2 separate regions of the Homo sapiens genome follow, and region 1 is linked to region 2. Evidence: promoter capture Hi-C in 16 types of primary human blood cells and fetal thymus (Javierre and others, 2016). All regions are on one chromosome and are shown on one strand. The core of a region is centred on a gene start or on the middle of the fragment in contact, and the rest is flanking DNA. Distances in the headings are between cores, read along the strand shown. Region 1 overlaps C15orf61 (chromosome 15 open reading frame 61). Region 2 holds the start of FEM1B (fem-1 homolog B).

Region 1 (3,370 bases), core at 428-2,927, 750 kb after region 2:
CCATTAGGTCTTTAAAATTTCAGCCCACTCCTTATTGCCAATAAGTCTATGGATATGTACCATTTCAGTTAATTGCTTTTATAAACAGTTACCAAATTTATTTTTCTGCATCTTTCTAGAAGATCTTAATTGTTCTTACAGCTTTATAGGAAAGCTGTTTTAACTTTTAATAAGTCTGAGTTTCATTCACCTTGCTACACTTATATTAACCAGTTATTATTACATTTTACAAACGATATGGTTTTGGACTCTTTAAGCAACAAGAAGTTTCAACATTACACTCCAACCCCTCCTCCAGGTAAATGGCACAAGGCCTTTAAAACGTTTCTATTTACAATCCTGGCAGCTGAATGGTTTAGACTTGAGATTACAATTAGATTCTCATCAATTTTGGATTTGCCAATGATGTAATATTTCCATCATACATCCTAATGTCTTCTACTTCTTTTTCCATTGTTACATAAAAGATTTTCCCCCCTTCTCTTTTGTGTGGGCATCTATATTTTCTCTTCAGAGTTGATTTAAATTGTTAATTAACTATAGAATCTATTACATTGTAATCATTTTTTATCTGTAGGTTAACCTAGTTCTAGGGAAAAAATGGTGTGAAGCTTCATGTGTTTGTAGTTCACATCAGCTAAACAGAGTATGTAATATATAACGATGTATAAAAAGCTTCACCTCTTGAGGGCAATGATTCATCTTAAAGAAGCAGATACTGTAGAAAGAAAAAAGTATTTGCAAAAGTTTTATTTTAAAGGATCAAAAATAAATACTGCACATATACACAGAGAAAATCCACTGATATTTATGTTCTTTGACGCACACTTTCAATACATGGCACCTTCATCTTCTTTATTGAGAAAATAAACTGTTATGGGTCCATAACTGGTATGCACAGTCTCTGTGACTCTGGCAAATAACCAGGAGCCAAGTCCATATAATAAAGTTGGAATACCTAGAAAACAAACGAATATGTATAAACATCAATGCTTATTAATCATGCAAGTTACTGATCACGTATAACACTCTTCAGCAATGTTAACAAATTACAATGTGATAAAATATAAAAATATTAATCAACATTGACTCTGATTATCTAAGAGCTCAATTTCATCAACGTGGCACATGATGGCAATCACGTGAGTCCAGAGGTTTTCATACTATAGACAAGGCGGGTATAAATGTTAATTCGAGTACTTCATAAATTCATTACCCTCAAATAATCATGAAGTAATGCTATATTCTTTTCATAAATAAGAAAATGGAGAAGAATACTCATTAATTTAGTTGTAGACGCTCCTGATTATTAGCCTTGAGCTAAAATTACTAAGTTAACACTACTGTTTGTTTGTTTGTTTGTGAGATGGAGTCTCACTCTGTTGGCAGGTTGGAGTGCAGTGGCGCGATCTCGGCTCGCTGCCACCTCCGCCTCCTGGGTTCAAGCGATTCTCCTGCCTCAGCCTCCTGAGTAGCTGGGACTACAGGCGCGCGCCACCACGCTCAGATAATTTTTGTACTTTTTTAGTAGAGATGGGGTTTCACCATGTTGGCCAGGATGGTCTCGATCTCTTGACCTTGTGATCCTGGGCCTAGGCCTCCGAAAGTGCTGGGATTACAGGTGTGAGCCACCGCGCCCGGCCAACATTACTGTTCTTTAAGTTAGTAGTAACACTAATGGTTGAAGTAATTTTTGTACAACTTAAAAGAAGCTCGGTCAAAGAGCTGTCTTTAAAATCTAAAGCAAAACCTAACTCCAAGTAAGATTTCAGTACAACAGGCATGAGAAAAAAAACTATTATTAGCATTTTTTCAATTGATCTGAAAACAACCTCATTTCAACCAATTTGAAATAGATATATAGTAGACTCCAACATGTGTTTCTTCTTTGGAATTGATAAGATTTTGCTGCTTTGAGATTAGTTGCCATTTGTGATACATGAAACTAAACACACTATCCAGAGATATGTATTAAGCACTCACATGCATATAAGACTGTTGGCACAAAACAAACTTTCACAATTCCTATCTTTTTAAAGGTACTTATTTAAAATTAATGACTACTAACATATTAAAAACATATGTAATAAAACCATAGGCACATGAATCAATAACAAATACTGTATGCTCTGGACAAGCATTAATTTTATGCTCTTATGTGGGAAATGGGCAGAAAGTGACACTTTAAAAGGATAGCTGTACATTTGGAAAATCACTTTCTTTCTAGTAATAAAGAACGCGGCTGGGCACTGTGGCTCACGCCTGTAATCCCAGCACTTTGGGAGGCCGAAGCAGGCGGATCACCTGAGGTTGGGAGTTCGAGACCAGCCTGACCAACATGGAGAAACCCCGTCTCTACAAAAAATACAAAATTAGCTGGGCGTGATGGCGCATGCCTATAATCCCAGCCACTCAGGAGGCTGAGGCAGGAGAATTGCTTGAGCCCAGGAGGCAGAGGTTGCACTGAGCCGAGATCACACCACTGCACTCCAGCCTGGCGACAGAGGGAGACTCCATCTCAAAAAAAAAAAAAAAAAACAAACAAAAAAGCAACACATGCTCTGGACTAATCATATTGCTAAATTTTGGTCTTATTTTTCTGCAAGAATATATTTGCTGTGTTAAGCTCTTTTTGAGTGTGTTTGCTGAACCACTTTGTGCTTACTCCCTGAAGCTTCATTCCAGCCACTGTGATGCCAGAGATTAATCAGGAGAAGCATCACATCACTAGCTGGTAATGAGAAGGGGAAAAAAATGCCCATTCAGGCTGGCATCTCTCTATTTTTAGGAATATACTGGGTCACAGTTTGTCACCATCACAGGGTTCCCTGGAACTCCCATGAAACCTTTTATAGTGTATCACCTTCTTTGCCCTGATAATGTCCAAAAGAATCTCTGAATACCTCAAGGGAATGTCATAAAAAAATCCACAAAAACTAGAATAATAAAGCTACTTATAAATCATTTAACCACAAAGAAAAAAAAAGGCAAGTGGCTCAGGGGTGGGAGGTAGAAAAAGAAGAATATGAACAAGCTAGGCAGAAATGAGAGTGAAGTATAGGGAGTAGTTGAAATAAAAAATAAATTTAAAATGCAATATCACAACTTCAAAGCTGAAAATCAATGGAGTGAGGAAGAAAAAAAATAGGCTCTAGAAGCAATTACTAATTTTCTAAGCATACTGAGACTAAAATACATAAAATAGGCCTCTTAAACCAAGGCTAAGTATATAAATTTAAGGAATACCTGGTGACACTGACAATTTTCTTTTATAGTATTTATCATAGTTTTCAGTTAACATATTGATTTAAAAAATTCATACTTTTGAAAAATCACAAATACAGAAATAAACGGTCAATATATTTTCAGC
Region 2 (3,657 bases), core at 783-3,282:
TCATCTAAAATAGAAGAAAAAGCTTTTATTGTTTAAACCTAAAAAAGAATCAACCGAAACAGAACATTTCCCTAGTCATCTTAAAGAAGAAATGTTTTTTTCAGTCGAGTTTTAGCCAGGCAGTTTCTAATCACCAAAAACTAAAGATATATATTTTTATGCTCAGACCCTACTGACTTCAAAAGAAAAAAAAAATGCTAAAATAGCTTATGTACTACCACAAGTCAACCAAAACATATGTAGCAAAATCGTTATACAGTTGTAATCTGTAAAACGTGTTATAATCCTCCAGCATAGAAAAGAGGATAATGTCAAACCTGACAATTCTGGTCAAATACCCAAAAATTCGTACAATTAAACTCAAAGGGCAAATCTTAGGCATAACAATGTGCATTTTTAAACTTCCCACCTCAACTAACAGTAAATGATCAAGCTTCCCCACAACATCACGGGATAAGATGTAATTTAAGAATGGCATCATCTCCCACATCAGGTCCAATGCCATCTTAGTAGCCAATATATCTACACCGAGCAACGTGGAGGAATCAGAATCATGTCTTGAGATGTCTGGCTGCGTGACAATCCCTCATGATGCTGCAGCTGCTGCTGGTTCTAGGTGCTTATTTTGACATTAAAGCCCAGCAGCCCACTGAAGGTTTTACGGAACCACTCACTTGAAGGGAGTAAAAATGGATGCCCAAATAACTCTTTCGGAGTTCTTCAATGTTAACCGCTGACCTCCTTAATTTCTGATCAGTTACATCACCAGTTCCACTAAAAGTAAAACCTGGAAAGGCAGCCACCTCCTCCAAATGGCTTGTTCACAGACTATCTAGTAGAGAAGACGACTATTAGATTTCAAGGCCGAGGGTGTGGTTATCTTCCCACAGAGGGAATGAGGGGTAGGGGCTGATGAGGACGGGCAGCAAAACATGGGATGGATTATTAGCCCTGGAAGATGAAGTGGGCATTAGTGGGGCAGGAGGTGGTACAAAAAGGGGAGAAGTGAGTACCTACATGAAGAGAGGGTAAGAGAGGGTGAGGGAGGGGAGGGCCCGTGAATTAACGAGTCCGCGCGCGTCGGAGAGAGGCTGGCTTGGGATGTACCTACCCGTCGAAGCGGACGGTGCCAGTCTGCTGAGTCTGCACCCGGTAATGTTCTAAGAGCAAGCGTACCACCTTTGCGTGTCCATTGCGGGCTGCGATGATGAGGGGCGTGGAGCGCTGCCCTCCCTGCTGGCTGACATAGCCAAGCAGATAGCGGATGTCGCTTTCAGACCGGTTGAGAAGCAAGGCGGCCAGAGTCAGCACCTTGCCCTCGCTGGCCGCCTTGTATACATAGCCAGCCAGGCCCTCCATGGCCGCCGCCAACTCCAACACCCGTTTGGTCGCCACCGCTGCAGCTGCCGTGCGCCCCCGGAGGCCGCGTTCGCCAGCGCTTTAAACCTGGGCCCTCACAGCCCATTCAACAGGGCGCCGTCGCCGCCGCCGCGCCCAGGCAGCAGTGCGGCCCAGGGAAGGCGGAGACGCAGAGGAGGCCGAGTGCCGCGAAGGGCACGTCCGCGACCCAGCCCGCGCAGGGAGGAAGGCGGTCAGGGCCGCCCGCCAGGTCCCAGGCGCCGGCCCTGGACCGAGGGGATCTCCATGGCGGACGCCGCCCCGGGCCTCAGGCCGGACCCCTCCTTCCTGCGGGATGCGACAGGCGCGTGCCCGAGCTACGGGTCGCCGGCCGGGTCCCGAGAGGACCTCGCGCACCCCGGATGGCGAAAGATGGGCGCGTCTCTCCTGACCCGGCCCACCCGGCCTAAGGCCTAACACTGCCTCCTCCTGCGCTTTCCGCCCTTCGCCGTCCCTGACTGGAGGAAACCTGCAGGCTCTCGTCCGCCGAGCTCAGAAGTGCCAGGCGCTGCCAACGGCCCCGGAGATCCTCGCGTAGGGGCCCCCGGGGCGATGCGGAACGCTCCCGCAAGAGCGGCGCCGGAACTTGGGCGGGGAGGAAGACGAGCTTTCGCAGACAGGGCCGGGAGGAGAGGGCGGGAGCGGGAGGGACGCTAAGTGGGGTGTCTCCGCCTAAGCCGACCGGCGGGCACACGCGGGCCCGGTAGAGAAAGGTTCTGCTGCGCGTAGTTGGCCCATCCCGTTTGGGCCTGGATGTCCTCAATGTCCTTGACTCCTGGAACCTCCTCCTGGCCCCTAAACGGCCCTGAGGGTCTCCAGCCAGGGAGTGGGGGCGGAGTGAGGGCGCTAAGCTGATGGGCTAAGGAGACCACCCTATTTTACTATAGACGGTGCGGGTCCTGCTTCTGCCCCTGAGCCGGGGTTAGGGAAGGGGTTGCGCGTACTCGGAGGGTCCATTTCAGGAAAAGGGCGGCGTTTCTGAGTTCCCGAAATGTGGGAGGGCTTGAGAGCCACAACACCAGGCTCTGAGAAGGGACTGGAAGTACGGCCTGACTTTCCCGGAGAAAGGGGTTAAGTGTGAGAGAAAGATGGGAGCGAAGGGGAGCTGCGCTCGCGGTGGAAGGAGCGAGGTATCCTGGGAAGGAAAGCGAGTCCCGCGTTCAGACAGAGCAGGAATCTCATCCTGAGCCGGCAGAACCTCCGTTTTCTCACAGACATCACAAGATTGTTGTTAGGATTTGAAACGATCGTTTATCCAATGAATATTAGAGGTCGACTACGTGCCAGGCTCTGCTTAGCACTAGGGATTCAGTAATGGAACAAATAAGTCAACAAATGATAGACAAGATCAGTTGAACTGGTATCATTACCATTTGCTCTGAAGCAAATGAAATAGAATGATGGGGGCACTCATTTAGTTTGGGTGATCAGACAAGACCTCTATGACAAGTGACAAGAACAGACGGTATTCTAGGCAAAGGGGACAGCTAATATAAAAGTCCTGAGGAGGGAACAGTCTGGTGAGCTCGGAAACAGAAAGGTCAGTGTGGCTGCAGCAGAGTGGGCCACAGTAAGAATGATAGATGAAGTCAGAGGATGCAACACACGTTAGGGCCTAATAACCCATAGCAAAGGGTTTAAGTCTACTCTGTGATGGGGGCATTTGAAGGGTTTTAAAGAGGGAAGTGACAAGATGCTATTTGTGTTTTTTAAAAAGATCACTCTGGCTGCTGTATGGAGAATAAACTCTGGAAGGCAAGAGTAGATAGGGGGACAGGCCTTGGATTAGGATGGTAGGAGTGAATGGTAGGTGATGAAGCTTCTGGGACAGTCTCAAAAAACTCAATATGAAAGTGACTTCCTCCCTCTTCCTCCCTTCCCCAAAGGACAAAATTTACCATAGAGAAAGAACAAATGCATTTATGTGGCTCCAAGGGACTGGGCTCGGCTCAACAAGTTCACATACATTATTTTATTTGAACCCCACCATTCCAATTCTAGGAGGTAAAGGCCTCACTTCCATTGCAGCTATTGGTGGAGGTGTGGGTCACTTCTCAAATTCTCTCCATTCTACAGCTCAGCTTTACCCACTTATTGCAGATCCCTACAGAAACACGAGTTATTTTTCTCCTTACCATAAACAAAAACAGCATTGGCAATAAGGGCTGAAGGTAAGATTCTACTGGTAGCGTCTCTGAAATAGCTGATAGAGAAGTGGGGGAAGCTGGCTGGTTTATTTGGGGACTTCAGGGTCATGAA

The links. The method cuts DNA at HindIII sites, captures the fragments that hold promoters and counts their contacts. A CHiCAGO score of 5 or more calls a contact.
Region 1: a contact is called between a fragment that was not itself captured here and the fragment with the promoter of FEM1B in region 2, in 1 of 17 cell types (non-activated CD4 T cells). The highest score is 5.0, in non-activated CD4 T cells.

What each region holds. Positions count from the first base shown.
Region 1 is chr15:67,524,006-67,527,375 of GRCh38, reverse strand. C15orf61 (chromosome 15 open reading frame 61) reads right to left here. Exons shown (of 2, transcript NM_001143936.2): 2 at 1-958. The coding sequence ends at 831. Among named protein-coding and RNA genes, the nearest start is that of IQCH-AS1, 3.8 kb to the right of the region's middle. The HindIII fragment of the contact is 1,999 bases long and covers 678-2,676 here.
Region 2 is chr15:68,276,120-68,279,776 of GRCh38, reverse strand. It overlaps FEM1B (fem-1 homolog B), which reads right to left and starts at 2,032. Exons shown (of 2, transcript NM_015322.5): 1 at 1,112-2,032. The coding sequence starts at 1,359. RefSeq lists enhancers at 1,193-1,392, 1,135-2,036 and a silencer at 1,423-1,752. The HindIII fragment of the contact is 2,784 bases long and covers 436-3,219 here.